Regions from separate parts of the Homo sapiens genome. Here all the other regions are linked to region 1. The links are contacts of gene promoters, found by promoter capture Hi-C in blood cells and fetal thymus (Javierre and others, 2016). All regions are on one chromosome and are shown on one strand. The core of a region is centred on a gene start or on the middle of the fragment in contact, and the rest is flanking DNA. Distances in the headings are between cores, read along the strand shown.

The links. The method cuts DNA at HindIII sites, captures the fragments that hold promoters and counts their contacts. A CHiCAGO score of 5 or more calls a contact.
Region 2: the fragment with the promoter of VN1R4 here is called in contact with the fragment with the promoter of ZNF528 in region 1 in 4 of 17 cell types (erythroblasts, naive CD8 T cells, neutrophils and 1 more); the score reaches 7.6 in erythroblasts.
Region 3: a contact is called between a fragment that was not itself captured here and the fragment with the promoter of ZNF528 in region 1, in 2 of 17 cell types (naive B cells and naive CD8 T cells). The highest score is 6.0, in naive B cells.
Region 4: a contact is called between the fragment with the promoter of ZNF665 here and the fragment with the promoter of ZNF528 in region 1, in 2 of 17 cell types (erythroblasts and total CD8 T cells). The highest score is 6.9, in erythroblasts.
Region 5: a fragment that was not itself captured here is called in contact with the fragment with the promoter of ZNF528 in region 1 in 2 of 17 cell types (total B cells and naive CD8 T cells); the score reaches 5.3 in total B cells.

The regions. Positions count from the first base shown.
Region 1 is chr19:52,396,519-52,399,189 of GRCh38, reverse strand. ZNF528 (zinc finger protein 528) reads right to left here and starts at 1,341. Exons shown (of 7, transcript NM_032423.3): 1 at 1,286-1,341; 2 at 571-823. It overlaps ZNF528-AS1 (ZNF528 antisense RNA 1), which reads left to right and starts at 1,433. Exons shown (of 7, transcript NR_125345.1): 1 at 1,433-1,728; 2 at 1,923-1,995; 3 at 2,438-2,580. It also overlaps a transcript of ZNF880 not described here. RefSeq lists an enhancer at 830-2,029. The HindIII fragment of the contact is 5,447 bases long and covers 1-1,766 here.
Region 2 is chr19:53,266,427-53,269,097 of GRCh38, reverse strand. VN1R4 (vomeronasal 1 receptor 4) reads left to right here and starts at 1,375. Exons shown (of 1, transcript NM_173857.3): 1 at 1,375-2,422. The coding sequence starts at 1,433. The coding sequence ends at 2,338. The HindIII fragment of the contact is 11,315 bases long and covers 1-2,671 here.
Region 3 is chr19:53,237,092-53,239,762 of GRCh38, reverse strand. ZNF677 (zinc finger protein 677) reads left to right here. Exons shown (of 5, transcript NM_182609.4): 5 at 1,206-2,671. Among named protein-coding and RNA genes, the nearest start is that of ZNF677, 16 kb to the left of the region's middle. The HindIII fragment of the contact is 527 bases long and covers 1,093-1,619 here.
Region 4 is chr19:53,192,045-53,194,715 of GRCh38, reverse strand. ZNF665 (zinc finger protein 665) reads left to right here and starts at 1,358. Exons shown (of 4, transcript NM_024733.5): 1 at 1,358-1,404. RefSeq lists an enhancer at 1,393-1,542. The HindIII fragment of the contact is 17,049 bases long and covers 1-2,671 here.
Region 5 is chr19:53,161,247-53,163,917 of GRCh38, reverse strand. It overlaps ZNF665 (zinc finger protein 665), which reads left to right. Exons shown (of 4, transcript NM_024733.5): 4 at 1-1,494. Among named protein-coding and RNA genes, the nearest start is that of ZNF347, 3.5 kb to the right of the region's middle. The HindIII fragment of the contact is 2,661 bases long and covers 1-2,623 here.

The DNA of each region.
Region 1 (2,671 bases), core at 92-2,591:
TATCTCTCATTCTCATCTTTTTTCCTAGCTCTTTTTTTCTCTATTTTCCCCTAGGATTCTGTTCATTTTGAGTCCCTCCTCTTCTCTTTGTCCCATTCTTCCCTCTATTCCTTCTCTCCCACCTGTTCTGATCCATTTTTACAACTTGTTTCACCTCTTATTCCTCTTTCTGCCCAATCTTTCATTGTCCCTAATCTCCATATATTTCTGCCTCTTTCCTCCCACATCTCAGCTCCCCTTGGGGTCTCCCTGTTAAATTCCATCTTCGATATTACACACCCCTGTCCCCACTCTCTGGCACCCTTAGATCCCAGGCCTCCCCCTGCTGTGGTTCTCCCTGTTCTCCTTGTGACCAGCTGCCCCCTCTGGCTGTCCCAGCACCACGCTGCTCTGTCTGACCTGGCTCCAAATCCCTCCTCCTCTCCCCCCTCTGTCTGAGAAGCCTTCCCTATCTTGTTGAATTTCGTCTTTCTACAGACCCAGGTTTGTCTATATTTTTACAGTTACTTTTCTCCCCTGCTATTTTCTCGGCACCTTCTTTCACTGTGCCTCTGCAAACCCCTCACTCACCTTCTACTTTGCCTTCTGTTAATGGGTCTCTCATTCTTCATTTCTCTTTCAAAATTTCTCTATTTCCTCTGCCTCGTTCCCATCTCTTTTTCTCCACACATTCACAGGGAGGGGATTGGAATAAGATGCCCACTTCCGGAAGAGCTCATTTTCTGTGGGCTGGAAACTGGCTCGAGAGAACACTGGATGTCAGGAGACTGAAGTCACCCCCCACACTCGGGGTCAGGAGAACCGGTGGCTGGAAAAGGGAGGCCTGGGGAACAGAGGGTCCAGATTAAGGAGCAAAAAGGCAGGAGTGGGTCAGGAGAGGGGTGGAGTCTGCAGAAACCAGGTCTGGGCAGAGGACGAGGCCTCTCGTGCCCTGTTGGGGCGCTGAGCTCTAGGGGCAAAGAAGGGCGAGGCTAGGGGAACGGAGAGTGAGGATTTTACGTGGTGCGGGGCGTGTGTAGGGGTTACTAAAGGATTTGAAGCAGGTAAACCCCACGATAGGAGGTGTCTACGTGGGTAAATGACAAAAAGACCGGGCACACGACCAGCCTCCAAGCGATTTTAACACGCAGAAAGCGACTCCCAGACTCTCAAAGGATGTCTGAATTTACTCGGGGTGGAGGGAGCGGTGCCGGGATTTCAAGGTCTGCATGCCCCTCAGCTCCCGGGTATAGAAGCAGAGAAGAACTGGCTAGCCTAGACTTAACATAGACAAAGGGAAACTCACGCACTGCTGCGAAAACAGTTTCTCCCTGCAATCGGCTTCCGGGTCTACCGGAAACTGCGCTCTAGGCGTTCGCCCCCCGCGGTCCGCTTCCGGGTTTGCACGAAATTGCGCGCGCATCCTAGAGGCCGGACTGGCTGGGACCAGGGCGGGCCGGGACAAAGCCTGGGCCGGGCCTGCGCTTCCGTTCGCTTGACTGGCTGCGCTTGTTTTCAGGGTTTTGGTCTGAAAACGGATCTTACCTGCGCAGAGCAAAATCGGTTGTAGATTATATCCACGAAAATTCCTTCTATTAAAATGAATTTCAAGTCCCACCTACCCTGGAAGCAGAAAGAGAGAGAAGAGAGAGAGTAAAGAGAAAGAGAAAAGAAAGAGAAGTTGAAAAAGAGAAAGAAAACCAAGAAAGAAAGAGAAAAAAACCGAAAATAAATGGACAAGAAAGAAAAGTAAGGAGGGAAGGGAAGGGAGGAAGGGAAGGGAAGCTTTAGGAATTGAATTAACACACTTTGGAATTGTCTGTGAAGGGGATGATGCAAGCTAAAATGTGAAATGCAAAACCCTGCCAGGGTAGAATGTTCTATTTCATGCCAGTGCCCATAGAAGATAAATACTTTTCATTTATCTTCCCCATTCACTCTAGACGGTGAAGGTCAACCCTGTGCTCAATTCCAGAGACTTTCCTAGGGACATCGTGTTGGGCATGGAGGACTAAGGCCAGTGTGAAGATAAGTCACCGATTCTTTAAAAAAAAAAAGCCAGTAACTTATAAAAATAGCCATAAACGACGTAGTTTTTTGTTGTTGTTGTTGTTTTGAGACAGCGTCTCCCTCTGTCCCCCAGGCGGGAGTACAGTGGCAGGCACTCAGCTCACTGTAACCTCCGCCTCCTGGGTTCAAGTGATTCTCTTGCCCCAGCCTCCAGAGTAGCCACCACGCCCGGTCCAACTTAGTTTTTTAATACTTTTTAAAATTTTAAGACAGGGTCTCTGCCACCGAGGCTGAAATGCAGTGGCGCAATCATAGCTCACTGCAACCTTGACTTCCTGGGGTCCTGGGCAGGTGACCCCCTGTCTCAGCCTGCCGAGTAGCTGTGAGTAAAGGCCTGTGCCTCTCCACTGTGCTAATTTTCTACTGTTTGTTGCTTTGTTTTTAATAGAGATGTAGTCTGGTTTTGTTGCCCAGGCTGGTCTCCAGCTTCTAGCCTCAAGCAGTCTTCCCATCTGCTCCTACCAAAGTGCTCGGATTATAGGCATGAATCACCTTGCATGGGAGATAAGGACCCCCACATCAAGCCCTCAGGTTATTTTTGAAACACAAATACATAAGGCCCACAAGCAGGCCCATTGGCTGCAGACAGTGGGGTCACCTGAAGAACTTTTCTTTGATCTGA
Region 2 (2,671 bases), core at 126-2,625, 870 kb before region 1:
AGGAATTATACACTAAAATTTCAGGATTGCTGAGGAAATGACTATAATATCACCATACTTGTAATGAATAGATTGACTCTACAGGAGTCATGTAATTCCTTACACAAACAGTGTATCTAATTAGTAGTTGCTGGAACGAAAATGTTTTCTCTAATTCTGAGAGTGTGCAGGGCTTAATGGGAGCATTAATTGTGTCTCTACTGAAAACTGCCATAGTCTGTTGATTATGGTGAGACTGTCTTTCCTCTTGATGTTAAGGAGGCAGCATTTAAGGAAAAGGTAACTTTATAATAATGAGCTAAAGAGAGCAGCTATCAGACTCAAATGTGTCCTCTGATGTGTTCTCTGCTTCAGATAGATTCTAACATCACCCAAACTCTCTAATTTCCGTTTACAAAGTATATATAATATACACCCACTAGAGTTTCCAATTTTCACGTTTGTCACATTTTAATTTAGTTATGCAAATATTGTCCTAAGGATAATAATTTATTTAACTCAGTTATTAATAGATCTAGATATGTCATCTAACATTTGTAAGAATTTGGTTATTACCTTACACTATTTTATCCCATATTGTTGTTTCATGTCCTATTGTTTTGGGTAAGACATGATTGTGGTAGGTGCCTTTATGCCTTTGTCCGTGGCACAAAAGCAAATGCTCACAATGTTTTTTACTCTCTTTCCATTCTAATATTGATCCATGCTTGCAGTCATTAAATCCAACTTGTCATGGTGCAGGTTTCTATAGTATCAAACTGTAATCCCTGCATCTACATTTTTTAAGATCTCTAAACCTTTATTTATTTGGATATTGACAAATAGAATACATTTTTACACATAATGTAAAATCATTACAACATACAGTAACCTACTACAAGACTGAAATATAATGACAAGGAATAAAAACAAAGGGGTGTGTGTGTGTATGTGTGTGTGTGTGTGTGTGTGTGTGTGTGTGTGTGTGTGTGTCTTATTCAAAGAACACAGCTATCTAGCTTTGTTAGTCAACTATAACGGCTAAATGCACTGTCTTTGCAATAAAACCAGGCAGGTTCAAGTTCGCATTTTGCCTGTAAGTAGGGTGGAAATGTTGCCAGCCACTTCACCTCTCTGTGTGTATGTCCTTCTCATATTTACAATGAAAGTAATAGTAATGCCTGCCTCATAGGTTTGTGAATAAAGAAGTTGCCGCACGTATGATCTGCACAGCAGTGATTCCCACATGGGAAGTGCTCTTTAAAGGTTACGCATTCAACTCTCAAAAGCCTCTTAAGAGAAGAGTGACTTTAAGTATTTCTAAGGGCAGAGCAATGGGAGGTGGAGAATGCTGGGTTGCAGGTGACACTATAAACGTAGCTCATGCCTCCTATTTCCATGCAGGACCTCCCAGCCCTGAAGACAAACATCAGTGACAGACATCAGTGGCAGAATGGCCTCCCGGTATGTGGCAGTGGGAATGATCTTATCACAGACCGTGGTGGGAGTCCTGGGGAGCTTCTCTGTTCTTCTCCATTATCTCTCCTTTTACTGCACTGGGTGCAGGTTAAGGTCCACAGATTTGATTGTTAAGCACCTGATTGTAGCCAACTTCTTAGCTCTCCGCTGTAAAGGAGTCCCCCAGACAATGGCAGCTTTTGGGGTTAGATATTTTCTCAATGCTCTTGGGTGCAAACTTGTTTTCTATCTCCATAGAGTGGGCAGGGGAGTGTCCATTGGCACCACCTGCCTCTTGAGTGTCTTCCAGGTGATCACGGTCAGCTCCAGGAAATCCAGGTGGGCAAAACTTAAAGAGAAAGCCCCCAAGCATGTTGGCTTTTCTGTTCTCCTGTGCTGGATCGTGTGCATGTTGGTAAACATCATCTTTCCCATGTATGTGACTGGCAAATGGAACTACACAAACATCACAGTGAACGAGGATTTGGGATACTGTTCTGGGGGAGGCAACAACAAAATCGCACAGACACTGCGTGCAATGTTGTTATCATTCCCTGATGTGTTGTGTCTGGGGCTCATGCTCTGGGTCAGCAGCTCCATGGTTTGCATACTGCACAGGCACAAGCAGCGGGTCCAGCACATTGATAGGAGCAATCTCTCCCCCAGAGCCTCCCCAGAGAACAGAGCTACGCAGAGCATCCTCATCCTGGTGAGCACCTTTGTGTCTTCTTACACTCTCTCCTGCCTTTTCCAAGTTTGTATGGCTCTTTTGGATAATCCCAATAGTTTACTGGTGAACACTTCAGCCTTAATGAGTGTATGTTTCCCAACTCTCAGCCCCTTTGTTCTCATGAGCTGTGACCCCAGTGTATACAGGTTTTGTTTTGCCTGGAAAAGATGACAAGATCTCCTAACCTCATCATAAACATGTACATTGTATATATTTGCTCATGGTTCAATTGATGACTTACTCTTCTGTGCCGCAATGTAATCTTAATTATGAACCTCTCCCAATTATGAGAAGGTGATGAACAAGACAGGGTGAACTTCCACCCCAATGATAAACAATAACTAGTAAGAACAATTGTAAATGAAATATGATGCAATTATTATGTAAATATTCATATTATCAAAGTTTTATTAAGGCCTGCAGTAGAGTCATTAAAGGTCTACGCAATTAAAAAAATTAGGTCCTGAATCAATCTGGCAATGATGGGGATCTCTTTGAGTGTGC
Region 3 (2,671 bases), core at 107-2,606, 840 kb before region 1:
TAGTGCTGTTAGAGACCTTAGTAACTTGCATAGCATTTAGTATGCTTTGAAAAGTTACCTTTATGAATAAGATATGTCAAGTGTCTGTCATGTTTCTTATGAGATTGACCTTTGCCTTCATTATATCTTACATATTTTCTTTTTTGTAATTTTTTTTTTCATATCAACATTTCTCTGACTCTACATAATAAAATGTTAAAGCACACAGCTTTCATTATATGTATTTTTTGGCCATAGAACTGGAAAACTAGATGACATTTCCTAGTCAGGGAGTTTCTCTATATACTGCTGTCATATAACTGCAGGCATGAAATTATTTCAGACTCCCCTCCTAATTCTTCATCTTTATAGTAATGTGCATTTACCTGAAGCTGATATTTCAAAATTTAGTGATTCTCAACATATTATTTTTCCTATTGTGTGTCCCTTCTGTTTTTTCTGTAGTTCATAAGCAGTAATTCTTTAGAATTTCACTGACAATTTTGTGTAATTGTGGTTGTTCATTAACTTGCCTGTTAGATTTTCACAGGTTACTAAAGTGTTTTATTTATTTTTGTAATGATTTACAGATGATGGTTTTTCAGTATATATTATGCAATAGAACCACCATGCACAAATTGTTAATGCTGCAAAATGCACATTCTACATGGGTGTAAGTAGTTTTATAACAAGTACTCACATTTGCAATTTGTAAATATTCAAAATTTTATTAAATTCTTCCGAATTTTTTCTTTCAGTGTTTTGTTTGCAATTATGAATTGTCATTTTTAAATATTTTTTATTAGATAAGCTTGAGCTGTGCCTTACCTTTTGTGTGTAATAATTATGTACTAAATAATGCATTACTATTTGTTTATCTTCAAATATGAGACTACCATATAGCTATGCCAATTTACGTGTTCCTTGGAGTGGTGGTGGAAAAATACCTCTTCTTTCAGAGTTTATGTGGATTTACATAGTATGAGTGTTTTAGCTATAGGGTGTTTTAAACTGTGCTTAAAATAATTTGTTACATGTTTTGTTACTGTGTTACTTTATTGAGGACAGCTAGTCCCTTTGTGTTGTTAAACGTTTAAAGACAGTTGAGAAGCTTCATAACTCTGTTCATTGTAAATCTTAGCTTTCTTGTAATATGTATTTTAATAAAATATTTACCTTGCAACTCTATTTGATGGAAAGCCTGTGGTTTTTTTAATATCTTTCAGATATTTCTGTTGGATTTACAAGCAAGGGATTATCACCAAAGGAAAATAATAAAGAGGAATTATACCATCTGGTGATATTAGAAAGAAAGGAAAGCCATGGCATCAACAATTTTGACCTCAAGGAAGTCTGGGAAAATATGCCTAAGTTTGACAGCCTGTGGGACTATGATGTAAAAAATTACAAAGGAATGCCTTTGACCTGTAACAAAAATCTCACTCACAGAAAAGATCAACAACATAATAAATCCTCAATACATTTCTCTTTAAAGCAGAGTGTTTCTATAAGAGATAGTGCACACCAGTATTTCATCCATGACAAGCCATTTATAAGGAATTTGTTAAAACTGAAAAATAACATAAGGTATGCCGGAAACAAATACGTGAAGTGTTTTGAAAATAAAATTGGATTAAGCTTACAGGCACAGCTGGCTGAACTACAGAGATTTCAAACTGGGGAGAAAATGTATGAATGTAATCCAGTTGAGAAGTCTATCAATAGTTCCTCAGTTTCACCACTTCCTCCTTGTGTCAAAAACATTTGTAATAAATATAGGAAGATTTTGAAATACCCTTTATTACATACACAGTATGGGAGAACACACATTAGAGAAAAATCATACAAGTGTAATGACTGTGGAAAGGCTTTTAGCAAAAGTTCGAACCTCACTAATCATCAGAGAATTCACTCTGGACAGAGACCTTACAAATGTAACGAGTGTGGCAAAGCCTTTAACCAGTGTTCGAACCTCACTAGGCATCAGAGAGTCCATACAGGAGAGAAACCATATCAATGTAATATATGTGGCAAGGTCTGTAGTCAAAATTCAAATCTTGCAAGTCATCAGAGGATGCATACTGGAGAGAAACCTTACAAATGTAATGAATGTGGTAAGGCATTTATCCAGCGTTCACACCTTTGGGGTCATGAAAGAATTCATACTGGAGAGAAACCTTACAAATGTAATGAATGTGACAAAGCCTTTGCTGAACGTTCAAGCCTTACCCAACATAAGAGAATCCATACTGGAGAGAAGCCTTACATATGTAATGAGTGTGGCAAAGCTTTTAAGCAGTGCTCACATCTCACTAGGCATCAGAATATACATCCTGGAGAGAAACCACACAAATGTAATGTGTGTGGCAGGGCTTTTATCCAAAGTTCAAGTCTTGTGGAACATCAGAGAATTCACACTGGAGAAAAACCTTACAAATGTAATAAATGTGATAAAGCTTTTATCAAACGTTCACACCTTTGGGGTCATCAGAGAACTCATACTGGAGAGAAACCTTACAAATGTACTGAATGTGGCAAAGCCTTTACTGAACGTTCAAATCTTACTCAGCATAAGAAAATCCATACTGGAGAGAAACCTTACAAATGTACTGAATGTGGCAAAGCTTTTACCCAATTTGCAAACCTCACTAGACACCAGAAAATACACATTGAAAAGAAACATTGTAAACAT
Region 4 (2,671 bases), core at 109-2,608, 800 kb before region 1:
AGATCTTTTTCTCATGGGCTATTATGTTGTTATTTGAGTTAATACAGGTAAAGTATTCCGAATAATGCCTTGCACATAGTGTTCAGAAAAGTCAGTCATTGCTATTGCCATTATCATCACAGTTTTTACTTCTGGCCAGTGTTTCTGTAAAGCCACTGTGGACCTTGTCACCTCAGAAGACATCATTCGTGCTTTAGCTTATCTAGATACGGAGTATCACTTAGTGTGTTGAAAATAATATCTAACACTTCTATAGAGATCAGCTTGTGTTTGGGTTTTTATTTGTCTATTTATTGTATTGTCCACAAAACTGAAAACTCCACACAGATTTAGAGGCTATTATAACTACTTAGGGAAAAGTACAATAAAACAGAATTAGGGAGACATAACTTGCTCAAAAATGCCTTCACGCTGGGGCGGTGGCTCAGTGAGCCGAGATCATGCCATTGCATTCCAGCCTGGGCGACAAGAGCAAGACTCTTGTCTAAAAAAAAAAAAAAAAAAAAAAAAACAACAACAAACCTCACATATTCGTATTTAAGAATATAGGAAACACTGATTCAGTTTCTTCTACTGTTCTCTCACAACACAGAATGCTACAGTTAGCCCAGAGGTACTGGGTTTTCCCACACACACCAAGCAAGCAATCCTGCCACAGACACCAGGTGCGTGTTCTCTCATTCCGTTCCATTTTGCCGGGACATGGCATCAGATCCCACACGTTGAGGGCTCAGTCCCACAATAGTGCACACATTTCAATGCCAGTCTCAAGCAGAGGTTGTGACTTGTGCTTACAGATCAGATATAAATCCAGGAGTCCCTTGACCCCCTCCTCAGGTTCAACGAATTTGCTAGAGTGGCTCACAAAATACAGGGAAACACTTTACATAGATTTACGTATTATAAAGGATATTACAAAGTTGACAGAAGAACAGCCAGATGGAAGGGATCAGTGAGGTGAGGCATGGGAGAAGGGGCGTTGAGCCTTGGTGCCCTCCCTGGGTGCACCACGCTGCAGGAGCCTCCCAGTGTTCACCTATCCAGAAGCTCCGCTGAATCCTCTCCTTTTGGGTTGTTATGGCGCCTTCATTACATATGCATGATTGCTTATATTACTGGCCATTGGTTAAACTTTTAGATAGCCTAAGTTTTGTTTTTTTTTTTTTTTGGGAGAGACGAAGTCTCACTCTGTCACCCAGGCTGGAGTGCAATGGCGCGATATCGGCTCATTGCAACCTCCGCCTCCAGGGTTCAGGCCCCGCCCCGGCCCCGCCCACCCTATGCTCTCAGTCCCTCCCAACGCCTGGCCTTTCCCCACCGCAACCCGCCCCTTTGCCTACTGCGCGGGCAGTTTCTTGCAAACCCGGAAGCAGATCTCTTGGAGTGAAGGCTGTTAGTCGCCGCGTGAGTTTCCCTCTATCTAGATTAAACCTGCGTTTCGGAGTCCCCTGCTCCTCCGTACCCGATGTCCGGGGGTTCGTATAGCCCTTAAAGTCCCCGCACGGCTCCCTCCATTCCATGTAAATTCAGACTTTGCCGCGAGACTCTGGGGGTCGCATCGCTTTGGGTTAAAATCACACAGGCTGGTCCTGCCCGCGGTCTTTCGGCCTTCAGACCATGCAGACACCTCCTTTCCTGCGCCGTTTCCTGCTTAAAACCCTTTACTGACCTGCGCCCTGTGAAGTCCTCATCTGCGAAGTGGGTGCAGGATTTTACCGTCCCCTAACCTCGCCCTAGTCAGCTACTGGAGCGTTAGCGCCGCAGCCCCAGTCCCGGGGAGGCCGCGCCTCTGCCTGGTCCTGGGATCCTGCATACCCCACCCCTCTCCTAAGGCGCCGTCGCCCCCCACCTCCCTCCTCCTCGTGCCGGGCCCTGCTGCTCCCTAGGCCTCCCCTTCGCAGTCACCGTTTCCCCTGAGCCCGCGTTGGGGAGGTGCCCGGGCCTTGTCCTGTGATACCCGGTGTTCTTGCCTGCCCAGCTCCACCCGCTGGAAAATGTGCTCCTCCAGGATCCAGGTGTCTTACTCCAAACCCTCCCTGTGAATGTGTGGGCCAAGGGGATCAGGAGACAGAGAGGGGGGCTGAGAGAAAAGTAGAAAAACGGAGACAGAGGAAAGAATGAGGGAAACCAGTAAACATGGCAAAGTAGAGGATGGGTCAGGATTTACAAAGAGACAGTAAGGGTGAAAGAAGTCGCTGAGAAAGTAACAGGATGGAGAAACAACTGGAGAAATGTAGAGAAAAGCTCGCTGTCTAGAGAGATGAAGGACAGCAAGGTAGGGAGAGGGGCAGCTCCTCAGACGGAGAGTTAGGGAGAGGAGGGGGTATTTGGAGCCAGGATAGACAGAGCAGCGTGGTGCTGGGACAGCAAGAAGGGGCAGCTGGTGACAAGGAGAGCAGAGGGAGAACCACAGCAGGGGGAGACCTGGGATCTGGGGGTGCCAAAGAGTGGGGACAAGGAAGTGAAACAGGGAAGAGGGGATTTAACAGGGAGAGCAGAGATAAGGGAAGAAAGAGGCAGAAATAGATGGAGATTGGGGACAACCAAAAGACGGGTGAAAGAGGAATAAGAGGTGAAACAAGTTGCAAGAATGGAACAGAACAAGTGGAAGAGAAGGATAGAGGGAAGGAGAAACAGCAGGAGAAGAGAGGGGCTCAAAATGAGGAGCAGA
Region 5 (2,671 bases), core at 44-2,543, 760 kb before region 1:
CATCTTTGATGAAGTCACACAAACGTAACATGCATGCTGAGACTATTACTCCTGGACCACAACTGTAGGTGAGGATTCATAGGAAGAGTAGAACTCAGTCTCTAGTTTCCTCATAACCCTCTGATATTATATACTTCAGCATAATCAGAAGTCCAAATGTGTTAAAACTCATTACATGATACATATCAAAGGTTGTAGGATGTTTGGAAATGGCCAATTACTTTCAGCTTATAAAATGTTTTGTTGAAGTATTTAAGATTTATTGAAAAGGCTACTATTTATAACTTCCAACCAGAACTTTGCAATGTGCTGATTTTATACATGATTATACGCCTAACATGGTGTTGTTCGGGAAAGAATCAAAGGATGGAAGGGCTCACTCACTTCATTAGGTGAGGATTATTTCTCTCCAAGCTCCTGAAGAAAAAAGACTCTGCCTTTTAAAATTAAATATAGTCTGAATTAGAGAGCACTTGGAAAGGGCAGAGGATGATGAACTATGATGTCACTCATCATCCTTATTGCACTGCAGGTGCCCTTCTTCTGACAGAAGAGCACTGTGGGTATGGGAAGAAATTCTCTACTGGCCGGGCACAGTGGCTCACGCCTGTAATGCCAGCACTTTGGGAGGCCAAGGTGGGTGGATCACCTGAGGTCGGGAGTTCGAGACCAGCCTGACCAACATGGAGAAACCCCATCTCTACTAAAAATACAAAATTAGCCAGGCATGGTGGCGCATGCCTGTAATCCCAGCTACTCAGGAGGCTGAGGCAGGAGACTCGCTTGAACCCGGGAGGCAGAGGTTGTGGTGAGCCGAGATCATGCCACTGCACTCCAGTCTGGGCAATAAGAGCGAAACTCTGACTCAAAAAAAGAAAGAAAGAAATTCTCTACCAGTAGACCATGAAATAGAGCCAGGAAGACACTCGGATTTTTATTAGAGGAGAGTAATAGCTTATTAGGGACTGATGTGTGGTACAAATAATGCAGAAAAGTGGAGGCTACCTTCTCCATCAAATGCCAATAGCTGTTGCATAGCAAAGATTGATTTTTTTTTTTTTTTTTGAGATGGAGTCTTGTTCTGTTGCCCAGGCTGGAGTGCAGTGATGCAATCTCAGCTCACCGCAACCTCCGCCTCCTGGGTTTTAGCGATTCTCCTGCCTCAGCCTCCCAAGTAGCTGGGATTACAGACATGCACCACCACGCCTGGCTAATGTTTGTATTTTTAGTAGAGATGGAGTTTCACTATGTTTGCCAGGCTGGTCTCGAACTCCTGACCTCATAATCCGCCCACCTTGGCCTGCCAAAGTGCTGGGATTACGGGCTGGAGCCACCGTGCCCGGCCGGCCGAGCATAAGAAGTTTAATCAAAGTAACCAGAATCCCATGTTTGTTACTAGGATTTACATTAACTGCTGGAATCACATTTTGCTACTATTTAAGAATGCATCATAGATTTAATGTTTTAACTAATAAAATTTGATGTATTTTATAAGTATGAATGAATCATTTCTTGCCAACATAGTTTTATCCTACCTCAGTAGCATACTTCATAACAGATAACAACACTGCACCATTAAGCTATCGAAGGATCTAGAACAATGATTTCCATTGTTGGATCAAACAACATATAATTTTCAGAAACTAAGTGTATTTTGGTTTTTTTGTTTGTTTGTTTGAGATGGAGTTTCATTCTGTCACCCAGGCTGGAGTGCAGTGGCGTGATCTCGGCTCACTGCAACCTCTGTCTCCCGGGTTCAAGCAATTCTCCTGCCTCAGCCTCCCAAGTAGCTGGGATTATAGGTGCCCGTTACCACACCCGGCTAGTTTTTGTATTTTTAGTAGAGACAGGGTTTCACTATGTTGGCCAGGCTGGTCTCGAACTCCTGACCTCAAGTGATCCACCTGCCTTGGCCCCCCCAAAGCTCTGGGATTACAGGTGTGAGCCACCATGCCCAGCCCAGAAACTAATTGTATTTTGTACTTGAATTATTCTCTCCACACTCTGCCTTGGGATACTTATGTGGTATAATGAAAATCCCACAGAAAGGATATTTCAGACTCTCACACCCTGAAGTCTGCATTGCTCTTCATGCATATGCACAGTATTATTATATTTTTGCATGTCTCTTTCTTGCATGCCAAATAACACCTATGGCATTTATCTTGATGTACCTGAAGTGAAAATACAAGTATAGTAAAAATATGACATATTAGGAAACAAAAAAACTGTGGGGAATATGGATAAAAACAACAACATCTCTTTTTTACCTTTGGAATGCTCAGTGGCAATTGGAAAAATTAATATATATAAATTTTCTTTTAAGAAAGAACATAACACATTCAGATTTTTTTTTTTCCTGGCAGATAAACGACAAAGTTTGTATGTTCACCCTCATAACATTTTGATCATTTGAACTTGTGACCTCTCTACTGGAACTGTATTGAACTTCACCTAAAGGTTGGTTGAGAAGTGTTATGAGACTGTTTATTACATAATGTGGGTTTCTGGGGAAAGCTGGGTAGACTTCCAAAGCTGGTCTAAAAATGGCTTGAGAGCCCAGATAAGCAACTTGCTTGGTGTGTTATGGTTGATAAGGTGTGGGGATGGGTTAGAGGAAGCTTTGTGTGGTTTGAACGTCCATCTAGTGACAAAGGAGGAAGCACTCAAG